2 separate regions of the Homo sapiens genome follow, and region 1 is linked to region 2. Evidence: promoter capture Hi-C in human tissues and cell types (Jung and others, 2019). All regions are on one chromosome and are shown on one strand. Each heading gives the region's core, a stretch centred on a gene start or on the middle of the fragment in contact. The rest is flanking DNA. Distances are from core to core; before and after follow the strand shown.

Evidence for each region. The method cuts DNA at HindIII sites, captures the fragments that hold promoters and counts their contacts. A contact is called where the count stands out against the background at its distance.
Region 1: a contact is called between a fragment that was not itself captured here and the fragment with the promoter of PLEKHB1 in region 2, in 3 of the 25 tissues and cell types used here (IMR-90 fibroblasts, neural progenitor cells and spleen).

What each region holds. Positions count from the first base shown.
Region 1 is chr11:73,578,207-73,583,330 of GRCh38, forward strand. All of the region lies in intron 1 of FAM168A (family with sequence similarity 168 member A), which reads right to left. It also overlaps the pseudogene HMGN2P38. Among named protein-coding and RNA genes, the nearest start is that of FAM168A, 17 kb to the right of the region's middle. The HindIII fragment of the contact is 9,693 bases long and covers 1-5,124 here.
Region 2 is chr11:73,642,883-73,647,830 of GRCh38, forward strand. PLEKHB1 (pleckstrin homology domain containing B1) reads left to right here and starts at 3,699. Exons shown (of 8, transcript NM_021200.3): 1 at 3,699-3,744. The coding sequence starts at 3,727. RefSeq lists enhancers at 3,264-4,182, 4,818-4,948 and a silencer at 4,558-4,777. The HindIII fragment of the contact is 18,602 bases long and covers 1-4,948 here.

The sequences.
Region 1 (5,124 bases), core at 2,139-4,638, 65 kb before region 2:
GACTGAATCCTGATTGATCTGACCATTGTTTAATCTATAGTGATAGAAAAGCCGATAGGTGGTTGCTTAAATGGGGGGGATATGAGGAGAATGAGGAGGGAAAGACTTCAAAGGGGCACCAAGAAACTTGGGAGGTGATGGATATGTTCACCATCTGCTTTGTGGTGATGGTTTCATGGGTGTATATGTATGTCAAAACTTAGCAAATTGTACATAAAATTTGTATCACTTACTGTATGCCAATTTTACTTCAATGAAGCTGTTTAGGAGAAAATACACTCACACACAAACACACACACACAATTTTCTTTTTACTAACCACTGACTACCACCCCAGAATATCTGCCCTAAAACTGTCTGATCACAGGGAGGCCAGGCCAAAGATTTCTTTCCCTAACCAATTTAGTTTCAAGTTTATGTAAACGGTTAGTAAAACATCACTGAAAGTTTTAAATACCCAAGAATAACAAATTACTTCCAAGCACTCTACAGCATTTCAGAATACGTTTCCATACAAATGAAATGTTAATTACAAAATGTAGCCTGGTAAAAGAATAAACAGTAAAGTCTTTGGCATCACACAAACCTGGATTGAATCCCATCCTTGCCTCTTACTATGAATCTAATCAGGTTTCTAAATCTGTATTCACCTTCTCATTTATAAAATGAAAGTGACAATAGCAATGCTATCCATCTTAGTCAGCTCAGGCTGCTGTGTACATAACAGAATACCACAAACATTTATTTTTCACAGGTCTGGAGGCTGGGAAGTCCAAGATCAAGGTACTAGCAGATCTGGTGTCTGGTGACAGTCAGCTTCCTGGTTTGCAGATGGCCCTCTTCTCACTGTATCCTCACATAGTGGAAAGCAGAGAGAGAGGAAGTAAGCTCTCTGGTGTCTCTTCTTATACAGGCACTTATAGAGCTCCATCCTAATGACCTAATTACTTCCCAAAAATCCCACCCCAAACATCACACTGAGGATTAGGGTTTCAACATATGAATTTTGGTGGGATACACTCAGTCCATAGCACTACCATTTTCTGAAATCATACTATGTGCCAAACACTGAACTAAGCACTTTAGTTACTTCCTAACAATTATATAATGTAAATACCATTATGTCTCCATCTAATGGATAGAGAAAATAAGTTATAGAAAGATTAAGTAACTATATAATATAAATGCCATTAATTCTCCACCTAATAGATGGAGAAAATAAGTTATAGAAAGATTAAGTAACTTTGAAGGTCACACTGCAAGGAAGTACAATAGCTGAGATTTAAACTCACCTTACAAAATTATTGAGGAATAACTGGAAGAAGGAGGTAAAATATCATCAGTGTCAGTAAAGCATAAATAACAGAATTCCCCCCACCCACCATTTAGAGCAAGTTTCTCTAAAGAAATGTAATTAAATGGAAATTTGTTTAATATTCCATAAATTAACTTTTAACTGATAAAAGCTAGTGGTAAGCAATTTATCCAGTTTATTCCTAATTCACAGTCTACAAAGTAACTATTATTTTTCTCCTTTACTGATGGAGAAAATGAAACTCTGAAATGTTAAATAACCTTCAGCAGCACAGACATAAGTTGCATCACTTGGATGCAAGCATAAGTCTTCTGACAAGAAATGAGGCTCTTTCTAGTTCAGCTGGTTGCTATCCAAGCCACTCAGAAGCAAACTCAATAATTTTTCAGATACCATTCATTTAGGTACCTTAAGCAGTATCTTGTACAATAGCACAGAATCAAAGTTTCATGGATCTGAACTTTAAAATATTTGCCTTGATACATGTTTATAGTGTTAGCACTTCATAAATGATGTCTACACACTAATATACTCAATATTTTCCTCACTTATTTCTGGTTTGGGTAAGAAAACTGATGCTACAATCTGTCAAAATATAATTGTCAATGAATAAGTAAAAAACAAAAACCAGAAGAAGAGGTGAGAACGACCCCCAGACCAACCAAAGCCTGTGCTCCGCTGCATCCCACGCCCAGTGCCTACGTCCCGCTGCCGTCACTGTCGCCGCCACCATGCCCAAGAAAGGCTGAAGGGGATGCTAAAGGAGATAAAGCCAAGGTGAAGGATGAACCACAGAGAAGATCCACAAGGTTGTCTGCTAAACCTGCTCCTCCAAAGATAGAGCCCAGGCCAAAAAAGCCCCTGCAAAGAAGGGAGAGAAGGTACCCAAAGGGAAAAAGGGAAAAGCTGAGGCTGGCCAGGATGGGGATAACCCTACAGAAAATGGAGATGCCAAAACAGACCAGGGACAGAAAGCTGAAGGTGCTGGAGATGCCAAGCGAAGTGTGTGCATTTTTAATAACCATGTACTTCTGGTGACTGTACAGTTTGAAATACTATTTTTAATCAAGTTTTATAAAAATGCAGAATTTTGTTTTACTTTTTTAAGCTATGTTGTTAGCACACAGAACATGTCCTTGTTGTTTTGAGAGGAAGGGGCTTATGTCACTAATAAAATGTCTCCAAAGCTGGATTGATGTGGGGAAAACACCTTTCCCTTCCAGTTTTGAGAGACTTCCTCTTGGCTCCCAGGAGCAGGGATTCCCTGACTTTGACACACATGGCCACCTTGGCACAAAAGCTTTGTGGTATGGAAAAACAAATTTGTTTTTATGTCCTCTTCTCCCTTTCTACCTTTCAGCTAGACTTAACTCCCTTAAACCCAGACATCTGTTGGGACCTGACCCCTAATCATTGGTTACCAGTGTGTCAGGCAATCTGGACTTTCCAGTGATGCCACTGAGATGGCACCTGTCAAAAGAGCAGTGGTTCCGTTTCTAGATTGTGGATCTTCAGGTAAATTCTGTCACTTTCACTTCACTTCCTGAAAGTCAGGGTCAGCTTATGAAAAGTTGTTAAACAACATGCTAAATGTGAAATGTCAACCCTCACTCTAAACTTTCCCTGTTCAGAGCATCAGATGAAGACTTCATTGGGTTTTATAGTGGCTTTCTGATTTTTGGTAGGCCATTAAAGAAGGGAGTTTGAAAGTTGTTGTATACTGTTAACGATTGTCTGCACATGTCCTGTCTGAAATGCCATGATTGTTTACGGACAGTATCTTTAATAAAGCTGGATACAGTTTGGCTTGGAAAAAAACAGAATATAATACTTGTATACCACATTTATGAGCTAAAAAACAGAATACTTGTATATCACATTTATGAGCTTCTTTCAAATGTATTGAATTTCAAAGGTGGATATAGATATGACTGTCCCCACTTTACATGGGAAAAAACTGAGATTCACAGAGTACTTAAACAACCTGTCCAAGTCAGACAGCTAGTAAGTGGCTAAGCTGGGGTTCAAATTCAGTTCTTCTGACTCCATGTCCAGAATTGTCCACACATAAGACCTAGTCTTCTTTCAAAAATAAGCTCAGGTTACTCTTCCTCCAAGAACTCTTCCCTAAAAAAAGGTTTGAATACCCTGTCTCTGCTACTTATTTTATAACATCTATAACATTGAACTGTAACTTGGTTTTTGTTTTTTTTTTGAGATGGAGTCTCCCTCTATTGCCCAGGCTGGAGTGCAGTGGCGCAATCTCGCCTCGCTGCAAACTCTGCCTCCCGGGTTCAAGCGATTATCCTGCCTCAGCCTCCTGAGTAGCTGGGACTACAGGCATGCGCCACCATGCCCAGCTAATTTTTGTATTTTTAGTAGAGACGAGGTTTCACCACGTTGGCCAGGATGGTCTCAAACTCCTGACCTTGTGATCCGCCCACCTCGGCCTCCCAAAGTGCTGGGATTACAGGCATGAGCCACCGCACCCAGCCAACTTATTTGTTTATACCTTGTCTCTATTGCATCTGGAGCTCCTTGAAGACAGCAACTACACCTTACTCATCTCCGTGTATCATCAAAACCAACCTAACATAGAGGCTGATATCCATGTTGACTAAAATAATGCATAGATGCATAAGTGATTATTTTTGCTTGCTACAAAGACTCTAATCAGCAAAATATTTTGGGGAATCCTAATTAAAATTGCCTGCCAGAGGCCGGGCACCGTGACTCATGCCTGTAATCCCAGCACTTTGGGAGGCCAAGGTGGGTGGATCACGAGGTCAGGAGATCGATACCATCCCGGCTAACACAGTGAAACCCCATCTCTACTAAAAATACAAAAAAAATTAGCCAGGCGTGGAGGCACACACCTGTAGTCCCAGCTACTCGGGAGGCTGAGGCAGGAGATTGGCATGAACCCAGGAGGCGGAGCTTGCAGTGAGTCGAGATGGTGCCATTGCACTCCAGCCTGGGGAAAAAAAAAATTGCCTGCCAGAAACTACTAATGGCTTAATAGGGTAATTAAAAACCCACATTTCTTAAAGTCTCAATCTTTCTACCATCAAATAGTTAAGTCAAGTCTTATATTTCAGTTGTAAAAATCAAATACACAAGCATTTGATACAATTTGGTTTTATAGCATTCATTTTATATTATCTACAAATTAAAACTGACCAAAGGTTAATAAAGAGGAAACTTTGAAGCAGAAAAAAGAACTCTAGACTGAGTCAGAAAAGCAATCATAAGGTCCCGTCTTCTCCATTTACCAATGTGATCTGCATTCATTCCAAGTGAGATTCCAGGGATCCGTCATAAATCAAGTTCTTTCTGAGTCTCATTGTGTCTACTGTGTACACAGCTCCACTGACCCAGCTATGGGCAAAGAGTAAAGGAAAGCTACATGAGAGTGGGCTAAAGTAGAGTAGAGACAACACAACGGGCAGGGAGCAAGGGGCAACAACAATGATAGAAGACACTCTATTAAAACTCAGCCCAGGCCAGGTGCAATGGCTCATGCCTATAGTCCCAGCACCTTGGGAGGCCAAGGCAGGCGGATCACGAGGTCAGGAGATCAAGACCATCCTGGCTAAAAGAGTGAAACCCCGTCTTTACTAAAAATACAAAAATTAGTTGGGCATGGTGGTGCATACCTGTAATCCCAGCTACTCGGGAGGCTGAGGCAGGAGAATTACTTGAACCCAGGAGGCAGAGGATGCAGTGAGCCGAGATCACGCCACTGCACTCCAGCCTGGGTGACAGAGCAAGACTCTGTCTCAAAAACAAAAACAAACAAACAAAAAAAA
Region 2 (4,948 bases), core at 2,449-4,948:
AAATGTTCACAGCAGTATTATAATAGCTAAAGAGTAGAAATCACCCAAATATCTATCAACCAATGAATAGATAAATAAAACACGATATATCCATAAAATAGAATATTATTCATCAGTAAGAAGGAATGGGCCAGGCGCAGTGGCTCAGGCCTGTAATCCTAGCAGTTTGGGAAGCTGAGGAAGGAGGGCTGCTTGAGCCTAGGAGATGGAGACAAGCCTGGGCAACATAGCGAGACTCGGTCTCTGCCAAAAATACAAAAATTAGCCAGGTGTGATAGCATGTGCCTGTAGTCCCAGCTACTTGGGAGGCTGAGGTGGGAGGATTGCTTGAGCCAGAGAGGTTGAGGCTACAGTGAGATCGCACCATTGCACTCCAGCCTGGGTGACAGAGTAAGACCTTGTCTGAAAACAAAAACAAAAACAAAAACAAAAAACAAGGAATGAAATACTGATAACATGCTACAACCTGGATAAACTTTGAAAACATTATGCTAAGTGAAAGAAGCCAGTCACAAAGGGTCACACATTGCATGATTCCATTTATTTTTTAAAACTATTTATTTATTTAGAAACAAGGTCTCACTCTGTCACTGAGTCTGGAGTACAGCAGTGCAGTAACAGCTCACTATAACCTCAAACTCCTGGCCTCAAGAGATCCTCCTGCCTTCACCTCCCAAATCACTGGGATTATAGGTGTGAGCCAACTGCGCCTGGCCCATGATTCCATTTATATGAAATGGCCAGAATAGGCAAATCTGTACAGAAAGAAAGCAGATTAATTTTGCCAGGGACTTGGGGGGAAGACAGATTGGGAGTAACTGCTAAAGACTATAGGGTTTCTTTTCTTTTCTTTTTTTTTTTTTTTTTGAGATGGAGACTCGCTCTGTAGCCAGGCTGGAGTGCAATGGTGTGATCTCGGCTCACTGTAACCTCTGCTTCTCGGGTTCAAGTGATTCTCCTGCCTCAGCCTCCTGAGTAGCTGGGATTACAGGTGCGCGCCACCACGCCCAGCTAATTTTTGCATTTTTAGTAGAGACAGGGTCTCACCATGTTGGACAGGCTGGTCTCGAACTCCTGACCTCAGGTGATCCGCCACCCTTGGCCTCCCAAAGTGCTGGAATTACAGGCGTGAACTACCATGTCTGGCCTAGGGTTTCTTTTTAGGGTGATAAAAATGTTCTGAAGGCCAGGTGCGGTGGCTCACACCTGTAATCCCAGCACTTTGGGAGGCCGAGGCGGGCAGATCACGAGCTCAAGAGATCGAGACCATCCTGGCCAACATGGTGAAACTCCATCTCTAAAAATACAAAAATTAGCTGGGCATGGTGGTGCACGCTTGTAGTCCTAGCTACTCGGGAGGCTGAGGCAGGAGAATCACTTGAACCTGTGAGGCGGAGGTTGCAGTGAGCCGAGATCACACCACTGCACTCCAGCCTGGTGACAGGGCAAGACTCCATCAAAAAAAAAAAAAAAAATACCCACTGAATTTTTTACTTTAAAAGGGTGAATTTTATGGTAGGTGAATTACATCTCACTAAAATTATCACTTTGGCCGGGCGCAGTGGCTCACGCCTGTAATCCCGCTCTCAGGGAGGCAAGAGGCGGGAGGATAGCTTGAGCCCAGGAGTTCGAGACCTGCCTGGGCAATATGGCGAGACCCCGTTCTCCAGAAAAAGGAAAAAAAAAAAAAGACAAAAAAAAGCGTAAAATTATCACTTTAAAGTGTTTTCTTTTCTTTTTTTTTTTTTTTTTTTTTGAGACGGAGTTTAGCTCTTGTTGTCCAGGTTGGAGTGCAGTGGTGAAATCTCGGCTCACCACAATCTCTGCCTCCCGGTTCAAGCAATTCTCCCGCCTCAGCCTCCCTAGTAGCTGGGATTACAGGCATGTGCCACCACACCCAGCTAATTTTGTATTTTTAGTAGAGATGGGGTTTCTCCATATTGGTCAGGCTGGTCTCGAACTCCCGATCTCAGGTGATCTGCCCGCCTTGGCCTCCCAAAGTGCTGGGATTACAGGCATGAGCCACAGCGCCCGGCCATTTAAAATGTTTTCATAAGCACTTTTACTTTTGCTCAAATTGCATCTTGATATAAACTTCAAGTTTTTTAAAATAAAGATAATATAAATTATTCTCATTATATTATACTCTCTAGAAAATGTAAGTAGTAAATTTGAATTTGATGAGCCAGTCCACTATTTCCTAAACAATGTATTATCTGTGGGCTGTTCATTCACCAGGGACACTTGAAATGGCAAAATCTTTTCCTCTCTGCCAATGGTTCTGTGCACCATAGCCACAAAGAAATGTAAAAGTTACTTGTTGGCTTATTAGTCTCAATAAGTTTTAGTTGATTGAACAAACAAAGTCTCTCACAGCCAGGACTGCTGCGGCTGGAATTCCTGACATACTGTCATACCTCTCACTCGTCAATCTACACTCTCCTCCCATCTACACAGCTCTGGAAATTAAAAACAATCCAACCATGACTATCATGGCTTCAGAGGTCTATGAACTCCCAGGAATTATACGCAGATTTTTTCCTGAGGACAGTCTACACTTCCTTATTGGCTTCTCAAAGAGGGTCACTGACCAGCTTTTAGAGACATGGGCCAAGTCCGGCTACGTTTAGATTCGGTAGTAGTGTCTGTGGTTTTAGTTTGCCACGTCCTTTCCTCTTTTTTTCGTCATAGTGCCCGCTCTTTGGGAGGTAGGGGAGAGTCTTCCCCTGAAGTCTCCACTGCTGCTGGAGAACCTTCCTTTTTCATCTGGTTGCTAAATCCAGAGAATGAAATCTAGGAGATGATTGCACCGTCCCCGCCCCTCAACATGAAGGATGCCCCACTGCCCATCGGGGAGGGGAGCAGGGAGAGCTGGAGAGAGGCTGGGTCGGGGCAGGACCCAGGCGCAGATCCTCCGAGGCCAGCTGCAGCCCTACCTACCTGCCTTCCCGTCTTTCCCCTCCCTTCTTTTCTCCTTCTGTCTTTCCTTCCTTCCATATCTCTTTCCTTGCCTCTTTCCCCCTCCCACTGCTTCCTTTCTTCCTTCCACTGTGGAGGTGGAAAATTTAGCTAGGAGAAGCTGGGACTGGGACGTTCCAGGAACCAGACAGAGAGTGAGTTAAAGGCACAGAGATGAAAACGCGGTATGGGAGAGCTGGTTCTTGAGTCGGCTAAGAGGGGATGAACTCAATGGTTAATAGGATTGGCCATGGCGAATCCCTCAGCAGGGCACGCACCGCACAAAGGGCCGAGGAGCGAGGGTAGCTCGAGGTCAGGATTACAGAGACTCAGGAGCAAGAGAGGAAGGCTTAAAGAGCCAGACTGCGCAGCCAGGACTGGGGTGATGGGCGCTGTCCTGCCAGGCCAAAGAATGAAGATGTAGCCCCGCCCCCAACCTAGGGAGGAGGACCAGCCCGGTTCCTGTCCTGCCCCCGCAACCTCGCCCCGATTCCACTCCGGGAACCTCGGCGATGCTGAGCCAAGACCACTTCTGAATCAGGGATGACTTGTCTAGTGAACCTAGGGTCAGAGCCATCAGTTGGAAAGGCTGGGAGGAGCCTGGAGAAAGAGGGCGACCTTCCTTGGGATCTGTGCGCTCCCTCCTTGCCTCCCCCTCCAGCCTCCCACTTGGTAGCACCTTCCTGATCCCCTTATCTCTAAGGCGCTCAGGGAAATGCCCCGCTGCGGGAGCCTTCTGGGAAATGCTGCCCTGGCCACCCAGGAACCATGAGCCCTGCAGCCCCGGTAAGGAAGAGTTCTCTGGGACAGGAGGAAGGGCCCAGGGCAGGGTGGGCACCCTTGCCACATAGGGGACGGGACAGAAGTCTTTTAGGCCCTGACATCCTCTGGTCTCTGAATGACATCCTGTGGCTGCTGGTAGGTGAGGGTTTGCGGGGCTGAGCTATTGAAGGAAATGATCACAGTCCGAGGTGATAGATACAGAAAGTCTTCCTTTCTCCAGGTGGGCTCCCGCCAGTCCATTCTTCACTGTGCCCTAGAGGGGCCTTTCCGACCCCCTAATCACACACCTCACTCCTCATCTTGAAACTCCCACCCCCAGCTCCAGTCACTGCGTCCTAACATCCAAGCTCTCCGCCTGTCATGCAAGGCCTCTGTGCTATTTCTTTCCAAACCCTGCAGCTCTATCGCCTGACACTCCCGATGCCCTCCCCACCCCTGCGCTTTATGTTCTAGACACACGGAAATGCTGGGCACTCTTCAACATCCTGACAGTATTCATAGGGGAAATTTCGGGTCGCCTAGGAAACTGCCCCTCATCCTCCAAGGCCCCTTTCAGCCTCCTCTGGGAAGCCTTCCTGAACCCCTTGAGAAAAGTCAGGCTCATCTTTTCCATTGTTAAATCACACCTTGTGCTCCAATTGTGTGTTTCCATGTAATCTCCCTCACTAGACTGGAAGCTGGGGATGGAAAGGGGAAGCATCAAAAAAACATGCAAAACTAGGAGCTTGGCTTCTCCTTGCAACTTTACTTTTTCTTTTTTTCTAGGAACTGAGTTCAATGATTCTTAAGAAAAAGTATTTCATGATAAATGAGTGAACAAATGTCTTAATAGAAAAGTAAAATTGCAGGCGGGGCTGCTTCTGCCCAGCTCTACAGGGGTAGACTACAAGTCCCAGTACGCCTCGGGTCAGCATCTCTTCACGTCACTCCCCCTCCCTGGGGTGGGCAGGTCCGGAGGGCGGGGCCCGGGGGCAGCTGGGCTCTCAGGCGCTGCGGGAGGAGAGAAATGCCCCAGGCTCTCCGGGGCACACAAAGCGCAGGCGCAGCGGGTTGGGTGGCAGCAGCATCGAGTAGCGGCCGCTTAGGCAGCAACATCCGCAACAAGTGTAGACAAGGTGGGTGCATCAAGGGGAGGGGCTGGAAAAGGAGTCTGCACCTGACCCTCTTGTCTGATCTGTGTCAAGACCGTGGAGAGGGGAGGGAGCGG